Linked DNA regions of Homo sapiens: regions 1, 2 and 4 are each linked to region 3. Evidence: promoter capture Hi-C in 16 types of primary human blood cells and fetal thymus (Javierre and others, 2016). All regions are on one chromosome and are shown on one strand. The core of a region is centred on a gene start or on the middle of the fragment in contact, and the rest is flanking DNA. Distances in the headings are between cores, read along the strand shown.

What was found. Contacts are between HindIII fragments. The CHiCAGO score rates a contact against its expected background, and 5 or more counts as called.
Region 1: a contact is called between a fragment that was not itself captured here and the fragment with the promoter of LYZ in region 3, in 2 of 17 cell types (erythroblasts and activated CD4 T cells). The highest score is 5.4, in erythroblasts.
Region 2: a fragment that was not itself captured here is called in contact with the fragment with the promoter of LYZ in region 3 in 9 of 17 cell types (activated CD4 T cells, naive B cells, total CD8 T cells and 6 more); the score reaches 8.3 in activated CD4 T cells.
Region 4: a contact is called between the fragment with the promoter of LRRC10 here and the fragment with the promoter of LYZ in region 3, in 11 of 17 cell types (activated CD4 T cells, naive CD8 T cells, non-activated CD4 T cells and 8 more). The highest score is 8.8, in activated CD4 T cells.

What each region holds. Positions count from the first base shown.
Region 1 is chr12:69,658,552-69,662,043 of GRCh38, forward strand. All of the region lies in intron 9 of BEST3 (bestrophin 3), which reads right to left. All of the region lies in intron 3 of LOC105369823 (a long non-coding RNA gene), which reads left to right. Among named protein-coding and RNA genes, the nearest start is that of BEST3, 39 kb to the right of the region's middle. The HindIII fragment of the contact is 968 bases long and covers 1,663-2,630 here.
Region 2 is chr12:69,629,328-69,632,535 of GRCh38, forward strand. All of the region lies in intron 2 of LOC105369823 (a long non-coding RNA gene), which reads left to right. Among named protein-coding and RNA genes, the nearest start is that of LRRC10, 20 kb to the left of the region's middle. The HindIII fragment of the contact is 8,060 bases long and covers 1-3,208 here.
Region 3 is chr12:69,347,016-69,350,061 of GRCh38, forward strand. LYZ (lysozyme) reads left to right here and starts at 1,366. Exons shown (of 4, transcript NM_000239.3): 1 at 1,366-1,529. The coding sequence starts at 1,394. The HindIII fragment of the contact is 11,988 bases long and covers 1-3,046 here.
Region 4 is chr12:69,609,293-69,612,780 of GRCh38, forward strand. LRRC10 (leucine rich repeat containing 10) reads right to left here and starts at 1,615. Exons shown (of 1, transcript NM_201550.4): 1 at 1-1,615. The coding sequence starts at 1,546. The coding sequence ends at 713. The HindIII fragment of the contact is 9,863 bases long and covers 1-3,488 here.

The DNA of each region.
Region 1 (3,492 bases), core at 897-3,396, 310 kb after region 3:
TTTATTGAGCACTTATCATAAACAATTTGTTGCATTAGGTACCTTTTAAATTATCACTTAAAAGGAGAGAGAAGACATATAAATAAATATTTACATTTGGGGCAAAGCAAGTTTTTGAGCTAGGCTTTGACACTGAGTGGGAATTGGATGGATAGAAAAGGGACAGAGCATTCCAGGTGAAAGAAGTGACTTGAACAAATAAGGCAGCAGGAAAGTTTAGGGTGTTTGTGAGAAATAGGAGATACTTGAATCTGTGTGAAACACACAGAAAAGTGTCAGGCCTAGGCTGGAAAGAGGTCCTTGGACCGTGCCATGAAGAGTCGTATACCAGGTTGTGGGATGTGAACTTTATCCCGGAGACAGAGGGCAGCTGTGGATTGTCTTTGAGAATGGAGGGCATTGCTAGGGTTGTGTGGTGTGGGTAGGGGTGTCCATGGTGGAAGGGTACACAAAAAGCAACGTTGATGACTGCTTTAGATAAGAAACATGACTTGAAAACTTTTCACTCCTTTAGTCTGAAACAGGGTCTTTAGAAGCACGCTTGGTGATCAGTGCTCTGGGGGGCAGTTTTAAGTATCTTACACTGAGTGGTGAATGATGCCCTCCAGGTCTTAATGCTGTAACAGAGCAGTAGGGAAACTCCCCAGCATGACAAACCTAAAGACATTTCTTCTAAATGCTTCCATGGAAGATCTCATTGCCAACACACACTGTTCATCTCCTCCTTTCTCTGGTAGCCACTATTCCCAATATGACAGCAGAAGCTGTGCTTTAAGAACAAAATAGTTTAAAATAGAATACGTATATATTTATTTATTTAGAGACAAAGCCTCACTCTGTGACCCAGGCTGGAGTGCAGTGGCACAATCATGGCTCACTGTAGCCTTGACCTCTTGGGCTAAAGTGATCATCCCACCTTAGCCTCCCAAGTAACTAGGACCGTGGGCGTGCACCACCATGCCTGGCTAATTTTTTATTTTTGGTAGAGATGGGGTCTCCCTATGTTGCCCAGGCTGGTCTTGAACTCCTGGCCTCAAGTGGTCCTCCTGTCTTGGCTTCCCAAAGTGTTGGGATTATAGGCGAGAGCCACCACACTCAGCCTTAGAATAGTTTGAAAGAGTATTTCCCAAATGGGAGGCTGGAGTATAAATTTTAGTTTCTTTTATTTTTTTTTTTATGCTCCTTATTTGATATTTAAAGTGTCCTCTTAGTCTAGGGTTAGTACAATCCTGAGGCTCAATATAATACCACTTAACCAACTAATAGCAGAAATATTATACGATAGAATAAAAGTACCCTCATTATATTCCTATGTATTAGGGAGAGTCAGCTGAAAAAGCTAGGTTTTATGTTCTGGAACTTATTTGGACTGAGAGAGGCAGGTAATTAGAGATAGGAGGACATTCATGAAAAGTGTCATGCGGCCATCAGTTTCCAGGGATAAAATTTGAGCACTGTCTCTGTGGTGGGAAAAATAATTTATTTTGAGAGCTTGCAGAGCCAGGATTGCTGTGTCTATGCTGACACCAACCAGCTGTGTGATCTTTGGGGACTCATTTAATCTCTTGTGACTTAGCATCATTCTTGGTAAGCTGGTGATAATTATCCTTTACCTGCCTTTTAGGTTGTTTGAAAGTTCAAAAGGGGTGACCTGTGTAGAAAAGCTTTGAAAGTAGAAGATGTAAAAAGGACTCTGTCAATGACTGGCAAACTTTCAGAAGTGGTTTCCAAGTTATCATTGACTTCTCAGACAGGGTTGGAGGAGATGATAATGTGTGTCTGAAGGTCACTCCCTTTTCTTCTTCAAGATTGTCCTTTTAAAAATGTTACTACACCTAGGAGATATCACTTAACAACACCTTCAAAAGGGATGACTTAGCCATTTAATGATAAGCCATTTAATGATAGGGCACTGGGTGGGTGAAGAGGAAATATAAGAACTGGAAGAAGCTGGGTTATTTGAGGGAAGGAAGAGAGGTCTGCTCCAATGGTGAAAATTGTGGAGACAGACTGCCCTGACCTTGCCTCTCAATATTGTTTTTTTTTGTGCCATTTTCCAAACATCATCAAACCCTGCAATACACACTTATTGTGCAATAGAAACCATCAATACAAAAATATAGAAAACATGAGAATGAGAACGGTTGTGTCACATATTGGTCTATTTTTGAAAGGGAGAAGAGTAAAAGAAGGAGAAAGAGAAAAGGTTATCTTAAGCCAGTCAGGCTGGTTAGTTATAGTTGAGTCCAGAAGAAGGGAGAGCATGCATTATTTCCACAGGTTAGGTAGATGTCTGGATTAAAATTATTTTAATCTCAAGTGTTAATAAAAAACCCAAATTTCAAAATACATATGGAATACCTACACAAACATCAGCCCCATGGTTTCCCTTGCAAATGACAAATATCCAAGGGCATAAGCAGCCATGATTTAATTAGAAACTTTAAAAGATGCTTGGGCTGGTCAGGGGTGCAGAAGAACATGCTTCACCCTCTGCTGCCATAACAAAGAGGCAAGAAACAGGCTGATGAAGATGTCAGCAGACTGCCATACTTGTTGGGGTGTGTCTAATATAGAAAGACAAAAATAGCCCTGATTGCTTGAAGGATTTAATGCATTTCTCCAAAGAAAGCTTTTTGCAAAGCAACCCCCTTCTCACGAGAGTGATTAGGTAAATATAGAGCTTCAAAAAGATTGAAAGATAAAACTGGATGATGCTTGTCTCTCTTTCTCTGCTCTACTTTTGAAGCGGTATTTTGACAATTTTAATTCGAATAATAAGAGGCCTTTTTAACAGAATTGAAATGAGGAATTTAGGAAAATGATATTTAGTATGATGAATTCTACTTCTCACTGCAGATTTATTGTTTTCAAATTGCTAGTGTACTCACAGTCAGGCGACTGCCTTGGAGGGAGCCGATAATTTGCCTGAGAATCTATCAGGGCAGAGACATGTGTGGAGAAGCATTTTTTTCATGGGCAAAGCAAAATGTACTCTTCAAACCCATCTGAGGCGCATGCGGCTATTTTTAACCATCTGCACTGCAGAATCATCATCAAAGCTGTAGCCAAGGATTTATAAAATGGGCAAGGCAACCCTCCCTCTGAGCTGGGAGGTGTGGGGCTAAGGGTTATGAGGAAAATCCAGTGGACCAAATATTGTATTCATCCAGCCTCCCTCAACCCTCTTTCAGGTGGACAGTTCCAAGCTCCAGAGCATCCTAGAAGGTAGCCCAGAAAGCTGCATTTAGGGCTGATGACCCCACTACTACCCGTGTTGGCCTATCTGGTCATTGAACCAAGGGCTTTGGCAAATCTGGTTGAAGAAGTGGCCTCTTGTGCCTTTAAAGAGGCTTATCTAGCTACATCCTACCACCCTGGTTATGTTCTCTTGGCTCTTGCTGGCTGACACAAAAAGAAGTTATGGCCAAAAGTGGGGGTTCACTTAAAGTTCCCTCTTTAATATTGTTATATTCTATAGGAATTTTGTTA
Region 2 (3,208 bases), core at 579-3,078, 280 kb after region 3:
CCTACTTGCTTGAGGGAAAATTTAGGAGTCACCTTCAATTCCTCCTTTCTTCAACCATATCCAGTTCATCAAATGGCTCTGATATATATCCTGAATAATCTCCTCACCCCTGCTCCCCCACTCCCTACCTCCAGAGCCATAGTCCAGTCCAAGCCACTAACACCTTTCCAAACCATTCTTCACACAGCAATCAGAGTGCTGCACAAACAAGGTAAATCAGGTCATAGAAACTGGCATAAGAACTCCAATGGCTTCGTACTGCCCCTGGAATAAAACCCGAACTCCCTACTCTGAACGCCAAGGCCTGTGTGATCTCACTTCCATCCACCTCCCCAAGGCTTTGATTCAAACGCACTCACATCTATTTGTCAGACGCACGGAGCGCTTGCCCACAGCAGGGCCTCACTGCTCCTTCCATCTGGTATACCCTTCCGATGGCTAACCCTTTTTATACTCAACTATCAGGTCAAATGGCAGCTCCTCAGAAGGCCTTCCCTGGCCTTCCAAAGCCCCCATCACATCTGAGTAAGACACCCCTCTGTCCCTAATGGTGACTACCACATTGCTCTGTTGATTTTCCTTATACCCCTCATTACACTGTGAAATTATCTTGTTCACTCATTTACCAGGTTTTGGCTGTTTCCCCCAAATGGGGATAAATGCCACAAAAGAAGGGTGTTGTCAGTCATGTGCATCATTGCATGTCTTGCTCCTGGAACAGCATGTGGGACATACTGGTTGCCAAATGTGAAAGGGAGGCAGGAGCAGATGATTTGTGTACAGGTATGTGGGGCCCGGTTCGGGGATCCAGGCGGAGTTGAGTATGATGCCTGATAGGATTGTCATGCCCAGTTGTTGCAGTTTAGATGCCAAAACCTCCACCCGAGGTGAACTCTGAAACTTCCCCGATAGCCCTACTGCAGTGCGTGGGCTTCTTCCTTCCTGGGCTGTTTTCTCACCTTTGTTACAAACAGCTTGGCAATACTAGCATGATGGAATAAGGGTTGAGAGAATCATCTTTGAGCTGGATGACCTTTGTCCTGGCACAACTGGATGGTGTTTGATCTGATGTACCCAGCACTGTCAGCAGGGGGATCCACTTCCTATCCCATCTTCACAAGGTGAAGGATCAGGAATCGGTGAAGAAACCAAGTTTTCTTTCTCATGAACAGGAGAAACGTAGGCTTTTAATATCAAATGAATGTGTGAACCCGGATTATCTGAGACAGGTCTCAGTCAGTTTAGGAAGTTTATTTTGCCAAAGTTAAAGACACATGCCAGTGACACAGCCTCAGGAGGTCCTGACGACGTGTGTCCAAGGTGGTCCGAGCACAGCTTGGTTTTGCACACACACTTTAGGGAGACATGAGACATCAATCAATATATGTAAGATGAACATTGATTCAGTCCGGAAAGGCCGGACCATTGGAAGCAGAGGCGGGGCAACTCAAAGTGGGGAGGGGGCTTCCAGGCCATAGATAGATAAGGGACAAAAAGTTGCATTCTTTTGAGTTTTTTTGTTTGTTTGCTTTAATTGAGTCAGGGTCTCACTCTGTCACCCACACTGGGGTGCAGTGGCGCCATCTCAGCACTGCAACTTTTGCCTCCCGGGTTCAAGTGATTCTCCTGCCTCAGCCTCCCAAGTAGCTGGGACTAGAGGCGCCTGCTACCATGCCCAGCTAATTTTTGTATTTTCAGTAGAGACAGGGTTTCACCACCTTGGCCAGGCTGGTCTCGAACTCCTGACCTCAAGTCATCTGATGTACCCAGCACTGTCAGTGGGGGGATCCACTTCCTATCCCACCTAGGTCTCCCAAAGTGTTAGGATTACAGGTGTGAGCCATGGAGCTTGGCCTCTTTTGAGTTTTTGATTAGCCTCTCCAATCAGATATGCATTTACCTCAGTGAGCAGAGGGATGACTTTGAATAGAATGGGAGGCAGGTTTGCCCTAAGCAGTTTCCAGCTTGACTTCTCCCTTTGGCTTAGTGATTTTGGGGCTCTAAGATTTATTTTCCTTTCACAAATGGATCTGATGACTGGAAAATGGTTCCCCTGACTCAGAGCCTCTGCTCTGACCTAGAGCACTATCTCCTTTATCTAGAACACTCTTTCTCATATACCGCGTGACTTCCTATCCCATCTTTTATATGATTGCTCAAACATCCCATTCTTCATGAGGTCCTCCTCAGCTACTTTTACAAAAATTCTTTGCTCACTTTCACCCAGCCTGCTTAGTTTTTCTCCAGAGCACTATCACCATCTACCAAGCTATAGACTTTATTGAGTGATGTGTTTATTGTCCCCCACCCTCCAGTGTAAGCTCCATCAGTGAGGAGACTTTGTTTCTTTGGTTCCCTGTGTATCTCCAGCATTCAGACCAATGCTCACCACATCACATGTGCTCACTACATATCTGCTGGATGAAATAAAATCTAGGTATCAGAATCACAGGTTCATGGCGTGGGAGGATTTCTGGGCTAAGGCATCCTAATAAGAAATGGCATCAAGCCTGAGATGTCACTGAAAATGAAGTTTAAAACAAAAAAACCAAAGCACTGAAGCTAAGTACGTGTCCCAGGGCTACAAAATTATACATCTCTTAGATTTAATGGAGCCACAAACCAAGGTACTTAGAATGAAAAAGATTTCCTTCCTTCCTTCCTCCTTCCTTCCCTCCCCCTCCCCCTTCCTTCCTTCCTACTTTCTTTCTTCCCCTTCCTTCCTTCCTTCCTTCCTTCCTTCCTTCCTTCCTTCCTTCCTTCCTTCCTTCCTTCCTTCTTTCTTTCTTTCTTTCTTTCTTTCTTTCTTTCTTTCTTTCTTTCTTTCTTTCTTTCTTTCCTTTTTCTTTTTTTGATGGAGTCTCGCTCTGTCGCCCAGGCTGGAGTGCAGTGGCGCCATCTCGGTTCACTGCAAGCTCTGCCTCCAGGGTTCACGCCATTCTCCTGCCTCAGCCTCCTGAGTAGCTGGGACTACAGGCGCCCGCCATCACACCCGGCTAATTTTTTGTATTTTTAGTAGAGATGGGGTTTCACTGTGTTGGCCAGGATGGTCTCGATCTCCTGACCTTGTGATCTACCCGCCTCGGCCTCCCAAAGTGCTGGGATTACAGGCGTGAGCCACCACTCCTGGTCTCTCTCTCTCTCTCTCTCTCTTTCTTTCTTGTTTTTCTGAGACAGAGTCTTGCTCTTGTTACCCAGGCTGGAGTAC
Region 3 (3,046 bases), core at 116-2,615:
TGATCCACCCACCTCAGCCTCCCAAAGTGCTGGGATTACAGGCATGAGCCACTGCACCTGGCCCTATTTATTATTGAAGAATCAAAATTAGGCCTAGCCTGAAAAATGAGATTATTCTTGATTTTTGAACAGGGTCCTTGAACTGTCATTTAAAACCAAATCTGGTAATCTTTAGAGGCCACTGATGAAAAATAAGGGTAACTACAAAGTGATGACACTTTGTGTGGCTCAGAATCTGTCCTCTTAGGCAGATACAGAAGTGCAGTTCTTTTTGAGTTCTGGTAGCATTGTTTTAAAAGCTGTGCACAGCCTCCTGAGATTGCTATTTTCAAAGGTAGCATTTAGTTGGATATATGTTTGGGTAGGTTTTATTTTTAAAATGCTGTTGCTTTCTAATGACCCCTTATGTTCTAATATGGAAAGGGGAGGCAAAGTATTGTGAAAAGTAGTTGGTAAAGTAGGCCGGATGTGGTGGCTCACACCTGTAATCCCAGCACTTTGGAAGGCCGAGGCGGGCGGATCACGAGGTCAAGAGATCCAGACCATCCTGGCCACATGGTGAAACCCTGTCTCTACTAAAAATACAAAAATTAGCTGGGCATGGTGGTACATGCCTGTAGTCCCAGCTACCTGGGAGGCTGAGGCAGGAGAATTGCTTGAACCCGGGAGGCAGAGGTTGCAATGAACTGAGATTGCGCCACTGCACTCCAGCCTGGTGACAGAGTAAGACTCCATCTCAAAAAAAAAAAAAAAAAGGTAGTTGGTAAAGTTGTTCACATGAACCTTATTTATAATAGTAAAACACTGATTTATAATAATAAAAAATTTGCTATAGTAACAAAAAGAGTCTAGAGTAAGAAACTAGCTGAGCAACGTGGTGTCACACTATACACCCATTAAGACAACAGGCACATGTGTCATGTCCATTTTGTGGAAAAGATATGTAAAATAATTTTAAGTAAAAAAGATAAATATAAAAAAGTGAATGCATACAAAACAATTTCACAAAATTGAATGTTACTCAAAAATCACAGCTCATTTTAAGCTGCACAAAATAGTCATTTTTTTCTTTATAATTGCTCAAATTCATAATCAAACAGAAGAAAGTTCCTGTCTTGGAAGTAGTGCTATGCCCCAATTCTTCCAGAGCCAGTACTTTAAACAATTCCATTTCATTATTTTCCTGTAGACTAATTCTTAGGACATCAGCATATCTCTCTTCAAGCATTAAAAAAATCTCTTTAGAGTCAGTGGATCAATAGACAGTTCCTGTTTTCCACACAACTGAAAGGGTGGAGCCCCCAAACCACAAGGGGAAGAAGGAAGTTAAAAGATGTTAAATACTGGGGCCAGCTCACCCTGGTCAGCCTAGCACTCTGACCTAGCAGTCAACATGAAGGCTCTCATTGTTCTGGGGCTTGTCCTCCTTTCTGTTACGGTCCAGGGCAAGGTCTTTGAAAGGTGTGAGTTGGCCAGAACTCTGAAAAGATTGGGAATGGATGGCTACAGGGGAATCAGCCTAGCAAACTGTAAGTCTACTCTCCATAATTCCAGAGAATTAGCTACGTATGGAACAGACACTAGGAGAGAAGGAAGAAGAAGAAGGGGCTTTGAGTGAATAGATGTTTTATTTCTTTGTGGGTTTGTATACTTACAATGGCTAAAAACATCAGTTTGGTTCTTTATAACCAGAGATACCCGATAAAGGAATACGGGCATGGCAGGGGAAAATTCCATTCTAAGTAAAACAGGACCTGTTGTACTGTTCTAGTGCTAGGAAGTTTGCTGGGTGCCTGAGATTCAATGGCACATGTAAGCTGACTGAAAGATACATTTGAGGACCTGGCAGAGCTCTCTCAAGTCCTTGGTATGTGACTCCAGTTATTTCCCATTTTGAACTTGGGCTCTGAGAGCCTAGAGTGATGCAGTATTTTTCTTGTCTTCAAGTCCCCTGCCGTGATGTGGGATTTTTATTTTTATTTTTATTTTATTTTATTTTATTTTTAAAGACAGTCTCACTGTGTGGCCCAGGCTGGAGTGCAGTGGCATGATCTCAGCTCACTGCAACCTCTGCCTTCTGGGCTCAAGTGATTCTCGTGCTTCAGCCTTCTGAGTAGCTGTGACTACAGGTGTGTACCACCACACCCAGCTAATTTTTTGTATTTTCAGTACAGATGGGGTTTCACCATGTTGGCCAAGCTGGTCTTGAACTCCTGGCCTCAAATGATCTGCCCACCTCAGCCTCCCAAAGTGGTAGGATTACAGGTGTGAACCACTGCACCCAGCCGACATGGGATTTTTAACAGTGATGTTTTTAAAGAATATATTGAATTCCCTACACAAGAGCAGTAGGAACCTAGTTCCCTTCAGTCACTCTTTGTATAGGATCCCAGAAACTCAGCATGAAATGTTTTATTATTTTTATCTACTCTACTTGATTAACTATCTTTCATTTTCTCCCACACAATTCAAGATGTGCCATGAGGAAAAGTTATTTTATAGTTTAGTACATAGTTGTCGATGTAATAATCTCTGTAGTTTTCAGATTGAATTCAGACATTTCCCCTCAATAGCTATTTTTGAATGAATGAGTGAAGGGATGAAATCACGGAATAGTCTTGTTTTCAAGATTCTAACTTGATATCCAAATTCACCTTTAGATATTATAAGAAAATTTCTATCAGAAAATCCTTATGTTTTTCTGATTAAAAAAAGCATTTTTCCATCAGCCTATGTATCTGCTATGAATTTACAAAATCTACTCAACAGCTCTGTTGATTTTTCTGTTCTTGGCTGAATGTTGCCTGAGGGATGGGAGCACGGGAAGGGTAAAAGCAATGGAACAAACATGTATTTTAATATTTTAAAAGTATGTTATATTGTTCGTTGGTGTTACAAGATGATTTGCATTACAAAAGGATTCTCTTACAAGTCCCTTATCTTAACACTAAAGTGCTAAGATATTTTATAAGTAAATCTTTATACTTATAAAACAAATCAGTAAAATAGAAGTAGCTAAGTAGAACTGATTTTGCTATAGAGTATA
Region 4 (3,488 bases), core at 365-2,864, 260 kb after region 3:
GTTCGGGGCTGCAGTGAGCCATGATTGTGCCACTGCACTCCAGCCTAGCAACAGAGTGAGACCTTGTCTCTAATAATAATAAAAGGGGCAGCTGGAGTCCACCAAGAAGTATTGTCCATCAGGGATCTTTTCAGCAGGCACTAAACTGCTGGGGAAAGAGTTTCATCTTGAGCCTTTACAACAACAAACAACTTTTTTCTGTGAATCTGACTGATTGCCTAGGTAGAAATGTCCTTTTCGGTGGCCTCAGTGATACATTGATACTGTTTATGGTCATTTACAGTAAAGAAAATATGTCCTGCAAAGAGACAGACCACCAGAATATTTAGTTCTATGGCAAATACCTTATTTGAGGAGCTCATGAGCTTCATGACCAGTCACTTCTGGAGAGTGCAGGAGTTCAGAGTGTCCCAGCCCCTTTTGCTCTTCAGTGTTTCAAAATACATGTGTGGAGAAGCTGTTTTCTTGCAAAGAAGTTATGATCTCTGGATTGTCATGCCATCATTGGCACACAACTCCCCTCTGGAAGAGGAGCTGTTTGCCAGAAATATTTTCTCAGTGTGATTTATGGCATTCCACCTGGCTCTCTCCATCAGTCTCTACTAGCAGAGCCACTCCCAAATGACCCAGAGCCATCCTTTCCACTCCAATGGAGAGGCTTCCAGAACATGCTGCAGTTGGGTCCTTGGCATTGACTTGCAACTGAAGCTCCTCAGGAGTTGGTAGGAGGAAGTAGAGGGACTGGTGCCTGTAGCTCCTGGCTTTCCTCTCTGACCAACGCATAGCGCCTGGCTTTTCTAGGGTCGGGCTCTGGCGTCTCCTCTGCCCATCTCCCCACACGGCGCACACCTTTGGCCACCTTGGGTGCGTTCCTGCAAGGATTGTGGTCATAGATGACCAGCTTCAGACTTGACAGGTGCGCCAGGCTGGGGAAGTAACGGATGCTGTTCCAGTCCACATCAATCACCTCCAGGAAGGGCATGTGAAGCAGCACAGTGGGAAAGTCAGTTAGCCGGTTGCCCGAGAGCCAGATGGTCCTCAGCTCCTGGAGGCGCCGGAGCTGGCCTGGCAGCAAACGCAGGGCGTTGGAGCCGGCATGCAGAGTCTTAAGGAGACTCAGCTCACAGACCACATCCGGCAGCTGGGTGAGGCAGTTGGCCTCGATCCACAGGGTCCTGAGGTTCTGGAGCAGGCTCAGCTCACTGGGGAGGTCGCAGAGTTTGTTGTTGCCCAGGTAGAGGATGCAGAGCTGTTTCAAGGTGCACACCACCTGGGGCAGAGCCTTGAAGTTGTTGAAATCCAAGGCCAGAATCTGCAGGTTCTGTAGCTGCCCCAGCTCCGGAGGCAGGCTATTGAGGTGGTTGTCGCTCAGGTAGAGCTTGACCAGCTCCCTGAAGGAGCACACGTGCAGGGGGAAGCGGCGTAACTGGCTCCCACTCAGATCCACCATCTTGTCCAGCGGCATCTCACGGAGGTCCCTGACCACATAGTTCTGGCAACGGTCAGCAGGGATGAAGGCCACGAGGGCCCTGATGGTGTTCCCCATGCGGAGGCTGGGGGCATGGCGAGCCCCAGAGGACAGACTCACTGAGCGGGGCTGGCTCAGCTGACTGCTCTGGGGCCTATCCTACCCTCCCATTATAACTTGGGGATTGCATGACAAAAGCCAGTCACTTTGACAGAGAAAAGTGCTCCTGATAGCAACTTGAGTGTCCGGCGACAGCGCAACAGTCCGGCAGGGGCTGGGAGGCCATGTCTGACTCACATGCTTGCCTTTAATCACCTAAGCCCCAATCCCCTTTATCAACCTTTTTTCATTTCAAGCTGAAAATAGCTTTGCTGTTTTTTTCCCTAATGATAAAATATTAACACATTACATAAAGGTGTAAAAGAAGAAAATGAAAAACACCCATAGTTCTATTACCCAGAGATAAATACTGTACACATTTGCATGTGTCCTCTAGTCTTTTCGCTATAAGTAATCATTTGTTTTTTAAAATTGCACTTTAGGAGCTTTTTTTTTTTTTTTTTTTGACAGGGTCTCATTCTGTCACACAGGCGGGAGTGCAGTGGTGCAATCTTGGCTCACTACAGCTTCTACCTCCCTGGCTCCAGCAATCCTCACACCTCAGCCTCCTGAGTAGCTGGGACTACAGGTGCACACCACCGTGCCCAGCTAATTTTTGTATTTTTTGTAGAGATGAGGTTTCGCCATGTTGCCCAGGCTGGTCTTGAACTCCTGGGCTCAAGAGATCTGCCCGCCCTGGCCTCTCAAAATGCTGGGATTACAGGCGTGAGCCATGGTACTTGACCAGGAACCTTATTTTTTAATCATGACGTATCATGGACATATTTTCATGTTTGCAGATATCTATGCAATTATTTTAAACCCCTGCATAGTATTCCATTACATGGATGTGCAGTAATTTAAACAGTTTTCTGTGGTTAGGCATCTAGGTTGTTTACAAAGCATGACTATTATAAACATCCATGTGCATACAGATGTGAGCAGCAATCCACTCATTTCTTTAGAAACCGTCCTTAGAAGTGTTGCTGGAGCAGGCCAGGTGTGGTGGCTCACGCCTGTAATCCCAGCACTTTGGGAGGCCAAGGTGAGCCAATCACTTAAGCCCAGGAGTTTGAGGTCAGCTTAGGCTACATGGTAAAACCCCATCTCTACTAAAAAAAACAAAAATTAGCTGGGTGTGGTGGCACACACCTATAATCCCAAGTACTTGGGAGGCTGAGGCAGGAGAATGGCGTGAACCCAGGAGGCGGAGCTTGCAGTGAGCCGAGATTGCGCTACTGCACTCCAGCCTGGGCGACAGAGCAAGACTCCATCTCAAAAAAAAAAAAAAAAAAAGTGTTGCTGGATCATAGATATGCATCATTTACAGGTTTTTCATTGATGGCTCCTCTGTACCCCACCAAATCTGAGCCAGTACACACACCCACCAGCAATGGTTACAGGTTTCTAATTTCTCATGTCTTCATTCTTATCAGATGATATCTTTCCACAGTTTAAAAACTTGCCTTTGACAAAAGATAAGTAGAAAAGCAGAAGAAAGAGAAGCAAGCTAGCCTTCTGCATGTTAAATAAATTCGGATGTATTCCTACAGTGCACCTTTGTCAGGTATGTTTGACCACCCATTAAAGGTTTGTGTTTCCCTTCCACAGTGTCCAGTTGTTCCAGACAAGCAGCTGTCCAGCCAGGACAATTTCCTAGTGCTGGTCTACAGGGGAAACTCTTCAAGTTCTGGCCAAAGTAATGTGGGCAGAAGTGTTAGATGTCACCTCTAGACTTGGTTCATTGTAAAACAAACCTTTTGCCCTTCTCCACACTCTCCTTCCCCATCTACTGGCTGGATGTTGTCACCCAGAGTGACTATAGCAGCCACCAAGTATATGGAAGTCATATGTTGCAGGTGGCAGGGCCGTGGTCATCCTAGATTCCTGAATAAGTGCTAAGAGCAAAACATCTCCTTAC